2 separate regions of the Homo sapiens genome follow, and region 1 is linked to region 2. Evidence: promoter capture Hi-C in 16 types of primary human blood cells and fetal thymus (Javierre and others, 2016). All regions are on one chromosome and are shown on one strand. The core of a region is centred on a gene start or on the middle of the fragment in contact, and the rest is flanking DNA. Distances in the headings are between cores, read along the strand shown. Region 1 has its middle 16 kb from the start of DEFB115. Region 2 holds the start of DEFB123 (defensin beta 123).

Evidence for each region. The method cuts DNA at HindIII sites, captures the fragments that hold promoters and counts their contacts. A CHiCAGO score of 5 or more calls a contact.
Region 1: a fragment that was not itself captured here is called in contact with the fragment with the promoter of DEFB123 in region 2 in 1 of 17 cell types (erythroblasts); the score reaches 5.2 in erythroblasts.

The regions. Positions count from the first base shown.
Region 1 is chr20:31,271,729-31,274,677 of GRCh38, forward strand. It overlaps the pseudogene DKKL1P1. Among named protein-coding and RNA genes, the nearest start is that of DEFB115, 16 kb to the left of the region's middle. The HindIII fragment of the contact is 3,607 bases long and covers 1-2,949 here.
Region 2 is chr20:31,439,359-31,442,058 of GRCh38, forward strand. It overlaps DEFB123 (defensin beta 123), which reads left to right and starts at 1,274. Exons shown (of 2, transcript NM_153324.4): 1 at 1,274-1,398. The coding sequence starts at 1,341. The HindIII fragment of the contact is 4,618 bases long and covers 1-1,734 here.

The sequences.
Region 1 (2,949 bases), core at 315-2,814, 170 kb before region 2:
GGTTTGGGGCGTTAAAGGTAATGATAGAAAACTTCAATTACCTATGAACCAACATAATAGATAACCACATATCAAATAAAGTGTCTAGAAGAGAATGCTGGAATCCAGCAGAGAAGCAACAGGGACTCTGAGGCACAAAAGCTCAAGATGGCAGCATAGAGAAGGAATCAAGGCAGCCAGCTGAATCAGCTCAGAGCCAGGAGGAACTCCGCATTGTTGGGAAAAAGGTAACTGAAAGATACGTATCAGTCCACACTCCCACCAGAAATGCCTGAAGTTCTAACTGCAGAAAAGCTCCTAGACCCTCACATGTCCTGAGCCTAGTCTGGAAAGCTGCCTGGAATCCACGTGACTGCATTTGTTCCAGGGAGAGAATTTGCACAGGGGCCCATCCCTGGAATGCAGGCTGCTATAGTATGGTGCCATTTTGAGAGCAAATACAACAACAGACTATATCCCGCCATGGAGACCAATAGCTCCTGCATCTCCACAACCCTGAGACCTCACCAATATCCACCCACACCCACTCAAAGGGCTGCAGCATCATAGTGCTGGCTAAGCCCAGTGGCACAACCACACTGCCAGCATCTGAGACCACACAACATCCCACACCCCAGGGAACAGATGGTCCAACACAACCGGTATACTGGCTCAAGGACATAGAGAACCAAAGTGTGAGCTCCCCAGAGCCTGAGAGCAACCTTCCTGGACCTGCTGCCACCAACAGCAACCTCACTCCTCTCCAGCAGTGGGGCCATGAAACACCATAAATACCACCCAAGGGCCCAGAGACTTACCTGCCCAACCCACTACAGAAACCACCAGCTCCCAACTACTCCACTCAGGAAATGAAACCAGTCCACTCACCCAACTAGAGATATTGCCAGCACTTGGGTGCCCACCTGGGGGCCCAAGGAGGAACTGCCCAGCCAGCATTTACACTCTGCTTGAGTAACCAAGGACCATCCCACTCAGGGCATTACACTGCCACTGCTGGTGCCTGTGCATCCGACCTGGGGCCCAAAGACTAGCCCACATGAAGCACATAACCATCACCACCAGTGCCTGCACATTCAACATAGGGGCCTATGAACCAGCCCATCCAGCACATCTGAAACTGCCAAAGCCTCACCACAGCTTCCACAAATAACTACACCCTAAGATGCTAAGGAGTTCGCAGACATCACTAATGTTAATGACAGCCAAAGTAATCATATGGAGACCACACTACAGTGTCCACCCAAAATCAAAGCCAAAGCACCCTACCCAACTTACATTATAGATACTTCTACAGGGAAATGTTTTTCCTTACAAAAGTTACTCCATAAAATTGAAAGAAATGTCAGTTACACCATATGTACAGATATCAATGTAAGGACACAAGAAACATGAAAAAGCAAGCAAAGACAACACCTCCAAATGAACAAAATAATTCTTCAGTAATAGACCTCCCCATAAAAAGAAATCTATGAAATGCCTGGAAAGTAATTCAAAATAATGATTGTAAGGAAACACAGAGATACAAGAGAACACAGATAAACATTACAAATCAAGAAAACAATTCACTATCTGAATGAGAAATTCAACAAAGAGATGCATATCATAAAAAGAAGAAGCAAACAGAAATCCTGGAACTGAATAACACAATGAATAAAAGCAAAAATACAATGTAGAGCTTCTAATATAAACTAGATTAAGCAGAAGAATCTTTCTGAACTTGAAAACTGAGCTTTTGAAGTAACCCAGTGAGATGAAAAAAAAAGGAAGAAAAGAAAAAAAGAAAGAAGACATATAAGATACCAAAGCAAAAAAAAAAAAATTCAAATTTTAAAAGTTCCAGAAGAGAGGAAAAGTCAAAGAAAATGTATTTAATGAAATATTAGCTGAAAACTTCCCAATTCTTGCCAGAGATATAGACATCCAGACACAGGAAACTCAACGATCCCTAAACACAGTCAATCCATAAATGTCCTCTCTGAGGCAGATTATAGTCAAATTGTCAAAAGTTAAAGACAAAGAATTCTAAACATAGGAAAAGTGTCAAGTCACATGTAAGAAAATCCTCATTAGCATAACAGCAGATGGCACCAGAGTGGCTCATGCCTGTAATCCCAGCACTTTGGGAGGCTGAGGCAGGTGGATCACTTGAGGTCAGGAGTTCGAGACCAGCCTGGCCAACATGGTGAAACCCCGTTTCTACTAAAAATACAAAAATTAGCCAGGTGTGGTGGTGCACACCTGTAATCCCAGCTACTCGGGAGGCTGAGGCAGGAGAATTGCTTGAACCCGGGTGGTGGGGGTTCCAGTGAGCTGAGACTGTGCCAAACAGTCCGTGGGCGGCCAGAGTCCTGGAGTGCAGTGACCAGGCTGTTGTCTAGCATAAAGGCGGAGCCCAGAAGAAGGGGCGTGGGGTGGAAGAAACCTCCCTCACTCCCCCCGCAATGCGGCATCCGCTGGTCCTGCTGCTGCTCCTCTCTGCCCTGGTGACCTCCTTCACTGCAGCCTCTATCCACGATGCTCATGCCCAAGAGAGCTCCTTGGGTCTTACAGGCCTCCAGAGCCTACTCCAAGGCTTCAGCCGACTTTTCCTGAAAGATGACCTGCTTCGGGGCATAGACAGCTTCTTCTCTGCCCCCATGGACTTCCGGGGCCTCCCTAGGAACTACCAACAAGAGGAGAACGAGGAGCACCAGCTGAGGAACAACACCCTCTCCAGCCACCTCCATATTGACAAGGTGACCGACAATAAGACAGGAGAGGTGCTGATCTCCGAGAAGGTGGTGGCATCCATCCAGCCGGCGGAGGGGAGCTTCGAGGGTAACTGGAAGGTACCCAGGATGGAGTAGGCGGCGGCCCTGGTGTCCATCCGGAAGGCTATGGACAACTTCCATGCAGAGCTCCATCCCCGGGTGGCCTTCTGGATCATGAAGCTGCCACGGTGGAGGTCCC
Region 2 (2,700 bases), core at 24-2,523:
GCAAGACCCTGTATCCAAAACAACAACAAAAACAAAAAGATAAAAAATAGTTTTTAAAATTAAGAAAAAAAAAGAAATGAAATGAGCCTCCTTACCAAAAATGAACAGCACAGGAAAGGTGGACTTCCAGGCTTTCCACTGAGTCCCTTCCTAGCCAGTGTCTCTTCTTCTCTTCATTGTAAGGGTTTTAGAAAGAATTATTTACACTTGCTGACCTCACTGTTTCACTTACCTTTCAGTTTTCAACCCCATTGACTGTTTTCTGCCCCTACAGAAATGGCTTTCACTGTTGTTGTTGTTGTTGTTGTTTTTCCCTTGTAATCCCTCTGTATGCTATTATACCCTTGACATCTGTTTCAAGCAGGGTCCAGTCAGAGAAACAGTAACTACAGGATGCAGCTACCACCCGAGGGCTGAGGGAACTAAAGGAAAGAGATGCCTTTTCTTTTCTTTTCTGAGACAGAGTCTTGCTCTGTCGCCCAGTCGGGAGTGCAGTGGCGCGATCTCGGCTCACCACAGCCTCCCCAGGTTCAAGCGATTATCTTGCCTCAGCCTCCCAAGTAGCTGGGATTATAGGCATGCACCACCACACCTGGCTACTTTTTGTATTTGTAGTAGAGATGGGGTTTCACCATGTTGGCCAGGCTGGTCTCGAACTCCTGACCTCAAGTGATCCACCCACCTTGGCCTCCCAAACTGCTGGGATTACAGGCGTGAGCCACCGTGCCCGGCCAAGAATGAGTTTTCAAAACCCGAGTTCAGAAGAAGGATTCTGAGTGGTTGGTTCTCAGATCTCTGAGGAAGCGGAAGGATGACCCTAGGGGGAGGGCCACCGCATGTTAGAACCCAGCAGGGGGCTGTGACAGACAGGCTGGTGCTCGGAGCTTCATCTCTTTCTGCCGTTTTCCTCTCAGTTTTTGCTCTGGTTATGTCATATTTCTCATTTTCAACACCAACATGAGCCTTTGTACAGACATTCCTCCACCTGGAACCCCATTTCAGCTCATCTACCTGTTGCTTTGTATTTATTCTTCAAAACTCTGCCGTCTTCCCTGACCTTCCGGAGCCGGTGTTTGTGGCGCCTCCTGCTGGTCACTGGGTTCAGGCAGTTTGGAGCTGGGTGGAAGGAACGGGTAGTATATTAAGTCTTGGGCCCTGGACCTTGTTGGCTGTCCTCTCCCTGCTGACCTAAATGACAAAGGGAGGGGTGTCCAGTCAGAGTGTGAGGGCTGTACCCGTGGGCAGCTGAGGGAGTGCGAGCCACAGGCCAGGCACTCTCCTTCTCCCATTAGCTCAGCCGTGGCATCGGACTTGCAGCTTCATTTTGGGCTGCCTTAGCCATGAAGCTCCTTTTGCTGACTTTGACTGTGCTGCTGCTCTTATCCCAGCTGACTCCAGGTAACCTGAACCTCCTTAAGGAAGGGGCAGGGCTTAGAGACTAAGGCCTGGTCAGAGAATCCCAAGGGCTAGAAGGATGGGCTGCAGGTTGTCATCTAGCACCACGTATAGGAGGCAGGAGGCGCCTCACCAGCAGCAGGTGCCAGCTGATAGATGACAACTACAACATCCAGAGCTGCTCTCTCAGCGGCTCCATCCCTCCTCTTCCTGCCCAGCTCCAGGGAGCATGTGGGGGTGGCCTAGTGTGTGAGGAGGAGTGGGAGGGGTGAGCAAGAGAAGCAGGAAAGAGGAGAGGCAGGTATGGCCCTTTTGCAAAATAGTCCCCAGAATGAACGAAGCTTTGTGAAGATCACAGCTACCTTAATGGGAGAGAAAGCTCATTTGTACTTAGCTGTCTCTGTGCCAGACTCTGCGCTGGAAGCTAGGACCACGGAGATAAATGACATGGTGCCAGGGGAACTAACTGGAGGAGACAGTTAAATAGCATTTATAACCCAGGGTGACACGGCTGTGGCAGTGGGAAACCAGGGGGCTGGGTACACATGGTCCAGCCCAGGCTGAGGGAAAGGAGAGTCCTCCTGGAGGGATATCCTGAGTCCTAAAAAGTGAGTCGAAAATAGAAAAGGAAGGAGAGGGGAAAGCAGAAGGGTGTCCCAGGCAGAGAGGTCAGCCTATGCAAAGGTTGGATGCGGGAGAGAGCATGGGAGTGTCGGGGACCTGCATAACATGGAGGGGTGGGTTAGGAGAGAGGCGGGGGTAAAGCTGAGGAAGCATTCAAGCTCCAGGTCTCAGTGGGCCTCAAATGCCAGGTGAGGGACCCATGGGAAGGTTTAAACAGAGAAAGACCCTGGTCAGACCTACCACCCACCAATTCCAGCATGAGCCACCTATCCCTTCCTGCTCATCTGGCAGAAGTTTCCACCCACCCTAAGGCTGTCGGCTAACCTTTCTACAGAGTCAGAAACGTGTGAATTTCCTAAACAAGCTGACCTCCGTCCTTGTGTCTTCCTGAGGCCCTAAAACACCACTCACCTGGAGTAGGGAGGAAAGCCCAGACCCCGGGTTAAAACCTGCCCCATCATTTTCTGACTCTGTGAGCCCCAACAAGAAGCTCAGCTGCTCAGAGTATCAATTTCCTCATTTCTCAAACTGCAATAACATCAAGTGTGTAATAATATCAGGTTGAGGGAACAACATTGAACACACTGAAATTTTGGTCTGCAAAAGAAATATGGCTTCTCTATTTTCTCTAACTCACCAAACTTTCCCAGGAACTTCCATCCTGACTGTGGGAGTTAGTGG